Linked DNA regions of Homo sapiens: region 2 is linked to region 1. The links are contacts of gene promoters, found by promoter capture Hi-C in blood cells and fetal thymus (Javierre and others, 2016). All regions are on one chromosome and are shown on one strand. The core of a region is centred on a gene start or on the middle of the fragment in contact, and the rest is flanking DNA. Distances in the headings are between cores, read along the strand shown.

Region 1 (3,245 bases), core at 236-2,735:
ACTTAAATTTCACCTGAATTCGACTCTTTCCCAAATCATATAACAATTATTTTAGTGACTGTCAATAAACTTGACTTTGGTGGAATTACAGGTTTGTCCACTGATCTGAGGCTGATTGGGCTAGAACAAAACTATATACGGTATAATAGATATAAATGTTATGGAAAAAAATAAAAGCAAGGAAAAAGAAGTGTTGGGAAAGGGACAGTTTGTGATTTAAGTAAGGTGCTCAGGGAAGGCCTCACGAATAAAGTGACATCGGAGCAGAGACCTGAAGGAAGTGGGGAATTTTAAAATCAGCTTAATATCTGGGAAAAGGGGCATTCCAGGAAGAGGGAAGAGTTAGTATAAAGGCTCTGAGGACAGGCATACAGGGCGTGTTGCAACCACACTGTTTTTTAACGAAGTCTCACACTGCTGCCCAGGCTAGAGAGCAATGGCGTGATCTCGGCTTACTGCAACCTCTGCCTCCCAGGTTCAAGCGATTCTACTGGCTCAGCCTCCCGAGTGGCTGGGATGACAGGCGCCCCCCACCACGCCAGGCTAATTTTTTGTATTTTTAATAGAGAAGGGGGTTTCACTATATTGGCCAGGCTAGTCTCGAACTCCTGACCTCGTGATCCCTCCGTCTAGGCCTCCCAAAGTGCTGGCATTACAGGTGTGAGCCACCGCGCCCAGCCGCAACCACACTTTCTTAGTGAGACCCACCCTGACAACCTCTTTAATTCTGGAACCTACCCCTGCCCCCATTGGTACTCTCTAATCCCACTTTGCTTTTCTCCACACAACTTTTCAAGATATAATTCCGTGTCGGCCGGGCGTGGTGGCTCATGCCTGTAATCCCAGCACTTTGGGAGGCCGAGGCCGGCGGATCACGAGGTCGGGAGATCAAGACCATCCTGGCTAACACGGTGAAACCCCGTCTCTACTAAAAATACAAAAAATTAGCCGGGCGTGGTGGCGGGCGCCTGTAGTCCCAGCTACACTCGGGAGGCTGAGGCAGGAGAATGGCGTGAACCCAGGAGGCGGAGACTGTAGTGAGCCGAGATCGCGCCACTGCACTCCAGCCTGGGCGACAGGGCAAGACTCCGTCTCAATTAAATAATAATAATAATAATAATAATAATAATAATAATAATAAATTCCCTGTCCTTTGTTTTTGTTCATCGATGTAGCCCAAGCTCCCAGGAGTGTGGGGCATACAGAAGGCGCTTGACAGCCACGTGTGGAGAAAAGGAGCCCGGGGCTGGGCAGAGAGCGAGGCCAAGGGAAGAAGAATACTCGGTCGCGTGGAGCCTTGGGGGCCCACTGGGAGGGCTCGGGCGCCACGCAGATCTGCGCGGAATGAGCCGCCAGAGGCCGCTGGCAGTCGCACAGAGAAGCCCATCGTTTCCTACCACCTGGGACTCGACGGACGTCTACGCGCGTGCGCAGCGGTCCCATCGAGGCACCCGCCTCATTGGCTGTGGCTGGCTCGCAAAAGTGGCATTGCGCATGCGCGCTTCCTTGCGCGAGCCGGGCTGTCGGGTGTGTTTTGCTCTCCAGCCTCCGTCGTCTCTGCAGCACTCCGGGTTCTCCTCCAGAGCGCTAGTCCCAGGAGCTCGGAATGTTCGTGGAACTTAATAACCTGCTTAACACCACCCCCGACAGGGCGGAGCAGGTAAGAGGTCCCGCTGGCCGGAAGGGGGCGGGACCTGGCAGGGCAGCGGAATACTGCATCCGGGAGGCGGTGCGCACGACCCCGGGGAATGGCGCGACGACCCGGCACGGGGTACCTGGGAGTTGTAGTCCGCAGAGGATCGACCCGGGGATTGGACTGGAGGCTTGGGCCCGCCGAAAGTGGGCTTCTGGGCCATCTCGCATATTCTCAACGGCTGTGCGTGTCCTTAAAAGTCCCTGGGAAGCGGCCGGGCGCGGTGGCTCACCCCTGTAATCCCAGCAGTTTGGGAGGCCGAGGCGGGTGCATCATCTAAGGTCAAGAGTTCGAGACAAGTCTGGCCAAGATGGTGAAACCCCCGTCTCTACGAAAAATACAAAAATTAGCCGGGCGTGGTGGCTCATGCCTGTAATCTCAGCTACTCGGGAGGCTGAGACAGGAGAATTGCTTGAACCCGGGAGGCGGAGGTTGCAGTGACCCGAGATCTCGCCACCGCACTCCAGCCTGGGCGACAGAGCGGGACTCCACCTCAAAAAAAAAAAAAAAAAGTACCTGGGAAGCATGGCCGACAGTGGGGTTGGGTTATATTCGCGGACGTGAACTGTGGCGCGCTGTGCATGTTCACTGGGGTGGGGGGTCCCAGGCGCTCAGAGGAGACTGCAGAATAGGCCCGAGAGGAGAGGGGAGTTCGTTTCGCCGCCGTCTTCATGGGCGAGCTTCCTAACCGCCACCTCGCCCCGGAGCAATTGGCACATTGTATTGAACGCTGCTGTTCTTCTTACTCTTCCTCCTTGTGATCTCTAATAGAACTGTTAGAAGCAGGACAGAGCCAAATTGGCTTGGACCAAGTCCGTCTTGGGCACCCCAGGCTGGCCTGTTCTCTCCACCCTCCTCACACTCCGGGGTACCTTGAAACCTTTCACATTTTAACGTAGGAGTAACCTCTTTCAGGAGTGTATCTTTTGGCTTATTTATTTATTTATTTATTTTTGATGGAGTCTCGCTCCCTCGCCTGGGCTGGAGTGCACTGGCGCGATCTCGGCTCCCTGCAACCTCACCTCCCGGGTTCAAGTGATTCTCCTTATTCAGCCTCCCAAGTAGCTGGGATTGCAGGCGTGCGCTACCACACCGGGCTAATTACTTGGCTGATTTTTTTTTGTATTTTTTGTTAGAGACGGGGTTTCACCATGTTGGCCAGGCTGGTCTGGAACTCCTGACCTCAGGTGATCCGCCCGCCTCTGCCTCCCAAAGTGCTGGGATTACAGGCGTGAGCCACCACGCCCAGCCTGGTTTATTCATAATCTTTGTCTTCCTAATGAAATGGTAAACTCCTCCAGGCAACCAGGATACTAAGTGTCTAAAGCCTTTTTATGACCCCATAGCGCCAAATTGTAGCTTTCAGTAGATCCTTGTGGATTTTAGTTGCCAGGCAGTTCTTGTCCAGATGACTCTGATTACCTTGCCAGTTACCACTGGCACTTCCAAAGTCAGCCTAGGGCCAGGTGAAAGAATGGAGTAATCAAGTGGGCACCAGGAAATGACAGCACTAGGGGTAACACTGAAGGTCTGACGATGTGATCTTTCACAT
Region 2 (3,245 bases), core at 223-2,722, 260 kb before region 1:
TTTTTGTGGGGACTGTTCTTGATCACTAAATCGTTTAACAACTTACTGATCTTTCAAATATAATTGAGAATAAGAAATAATAGGCGGGGCGTCGTGGCTTATGCCTGTAATCCCAGCACTTTGGGAGGCTGAGGTGGGCGGATCACGATGTCAGGAGATTGAGAACATCCTGTCTAACAAGGTGAAACACCATCTCTACTAAAAGTACAAAAATTAGCCGGGCGTGGTGGCGGGTGCCTGTGGTCCCAGCTCCTTGGGAGGCTGAGGCAGGAGAATGGCATGAACCCGGGAGGCAGAGCTTGCAGTGAGCCGAGATTGCGCCACTGCCTCCGGCCTGGGCGACAGAGTGAGACTCCATCTCAAAAAAATAAATAAATAAATAAAATTTTAAAAAATAGTATTGTTTCGGTGATCTTGCTGTAAATGTGTTTGTCTGTGATGTTTTTATTATCCAAAAAGTTAAAGAAATTTAGTTAAATATATTGATGTGGTTACTTTTCTCATTTTGAATTATAATTGGGAAGCTTTTATCATTCCTAGGTTATAAAGGAATTCAGCAATGTGTTCTTTTAGTACTTGTATGATTTCATTTTTTACCTTTTTTTAATTTTAATTTATAAAGATAGAGACGGGGTGTTGCTGTGTTGCCTAGGCTGATCTTTTTTTTGGAGTCAAAGTCTTGCTGTGTTGCCCAGGCTGCAGTGCAGTGGTGCAATTTCAGCTCACCACGACCTCTGCTTCCCAGGTTCAAGTGAGTCTTGTACCTCAGCCTCCCGAGTAGCTGGGAATTCAGGCACCTGCCACCATGCCTGGTTAATTTTTTTGTGTTTTTAGTAGAGACGGGGTTTCACCATGTTGACCAGGCTGGTGTCGAACTCCTGATCTCAGGTGATCCACCCGCCTCAGCCTCCCAAAGTGCTGGGATTATAGGTGTGAGCCACTGTGCCTGGTCCCAGGCTGGTCTTGAACTCCTGGGCTCAAGTGATCTTCCTGCCTTGGCTTTGCAAAGTCCTGGGATTACTGGTATGAGTAACCATGCTCAGCCTTATTATTTATTTTTTTTTTGAGACAGTCTCACTCTGTCACCCAGGCTAGAGTGCAGTGGTACAATCTCAGCTCACTGCAAGTTCTGCCTACCGGGTTCATGCCATTCTCCTGCCTCAGCCTCCCGAGTAGCTGGGACTACAGGCGCCCACCACCACACTGGCTAATTTTTTTTTTGTATTTTTAGTAGAGACGGGGTTTCACTGTGTTAGCTAGGATGGCCTCAATCTCCTGACCTCGTGATCTGCCTGCCTCGGCCTCCCAAAGTGCTGGGATTATAGGCGTGAGCCACCGTGCCCGGCCCCAGCCTTATTTTTACATGTCACTCTCTTATCCATTTAGGATTTGCCCTGGTAGTTAGTGTGGGAAATGGCAGATCCATTTTTCTGTTTTTCCTTATGGTTATCTGGTTATTCCAGAAAAGTTTATTTAAAAGGGCTCCTTTTCTCCACTGATTGCAGCTCAGCAAATGTTAAGAATTTGATTAGGTGCAGGGTCCTAAGAATACAAACAAATACTTTATATTATTTGTCCTCAGGGGACTCACAGTCTAATGAGCTGTGTGAGTAGAGCCTTTGACTTACTTGGTGATGTCAGGAAATATTTCTGTGGAAAAGGACATTTGAATTGTGTCTTGAAAGTTGAGTGTGAGTTCTTCAGCTAAGTGGGGGAGGATGGGATTTTCAGGTAGTGGTGGCAACACATAAAAGTGTTATGGTTGGCGGAGTGCGGTGGCTCATGCCTGTAATCCCAGCACTTTGGGAGGCTGAGGAGGGCGGATCACGAGGTCAGGAGATCGAGACCATCCTGGCTAACAAGGTGAAACCCCGTCTCTACTAAGTAGCTGGGATTACAGGCACCTGCCACTGCGCCCGGCTAATTTTTGTATTTTCTAGTAGACACAGAGTTTCACCATCTTGGCCAGGCTGGTCTTGAACTCCTGACCTCATGATCCGGCCACCTCTGCTTCTCAAAGTGCTGGGATTACAGGCGTGAGCCACTGTGCCCGGCCCTTTTTTTTTTTTTTTTTTTTTTTGAGACGGAGTCTCGCTCTGTCATCCAGGCTGGAGTACAGTGGTGCGATCTCGGCTCACTGCAGCCTCCGCCTCCTGGGTTCAAGCAATTCTCATGCCTCAGCCTCCCCAGTAGCTGGGACTACAGGTGCCTGCCACCATGCCTGGCTTATTTTTGTATTTTTAGTAGAGACAAGGTTTCACCAGGTTGGCCACTCCTGGTCTTGAACTCCTGACCTCAGGTGATCTGCCCACCTCTCCCTCCCAAAGTGCTGGGATTACAGATGTGAGCCACCGCTCCCAGCTAGCTGCCTGATGTTTTTTATAACAAAAATTTAAACATACTTAAAAGTAAAAGCTTACAAGATTAGTATGAAGAACTTTTATTTTCTCTTCACTCAGAATCTACAGTTAACATTTTACCCATTTGCTTTATCATTATCATTTTCTGTGGGATGTGTGTGTGTTATGTATTTTATGTGTGAAAAATTTGAAAGTTCCATGTTCCTTTACAGCTAAAGTATTCATTTCCTGTTCTCTTACATTATGAACTGGGCTAGAATTATCAAATTAGCTATTGATTGAGGTTTTCAATAGTTTAATTCACTATAATATAGTACATATTGATTGCACTTTATTAATTGTAACATAATTTAGAGTAAAATTACAGATTACATTATATAAAGTATTTTACATAATACGATTGAAATTATATTGGGATTCTTAATTAGGAATGTATGAATCTTTTCAAAAATGGTGTTTTCAGAGAGTGTTATATGTAGGCTATTTGACTCCTGGGAACTAAACCATTATTTAGTTCCAGATTTTAAAATATTAGGGAAGAATATTTTTAGGCAGAAGCCGTAATTAAAAACAATTCCTGGTTTAGTGCCACTGGGAACCGATGTACTTGCCTTCCTCTCAAAATGGTGTTCAACACTTTCCCAGATGAAAGGGATTGATACAATCCATAATGGTATAAAACAAAATTCGATGAGATAGATAATTAACAAAGCAAAGAATGTTTCAGTGAGACATATAAATCACATACTTTAAAAAGTTTTTTCCCTGAGTAATCAGTATGGTATAAGAGTTTATGCTGGGCATGGCTCACACCTGTAATCTCAGCACTTTGGGAGGCCAAGGTGGTCAAAACTCTTGAGCCCAGGAGTTTGAAACTAGCCTGGG

Evidence for each region. Contacts are between HindIII fragments. The CHiCAGO score rates a contact against its expected background, and 5 or more counts as called.
Region 2: a contact is called between a fragment that was not itself captured here and the fragment with the promoter of ELP6 in region 1, in 1 of 17 cell types (endothelial precursors). The highest score is 6.4, in endothelial precursors.

The regions. Positions count from the first base shown.
Region 1 is chr3:47,511,952-47,515,196 of GRCh38, reverse strand. It overlaps ELP6 (elongator acetyltransferase complex subunit 6), which reads left to right and starts at 1,485. Exons shown (of 7, transcript NM_001031703.3): 1 at 1,485-1,660. The coding sequence starts at 1,607. RefSeq lists enhancers at 1,521-1,630, 1,961-2,070. The HindIII fragment of the contact is 8,136 bases long and covers 1-3,245 here.
Region 2 is chr3:47,768,046-47,771,290 of GRCh38, reverse strand. All of the region lies in intron 2 of SMARCC1 (SWI/SNF related BAF chromatin remodeling complex subunit C1), which reads left to right. Among named protein-coding and RNA genes, the nearest start is that of SMARCC1, 12 kb to the left of the region's middle. The HindIII fragment of the contact is 1,891 bases long and covers 527-2,417 here.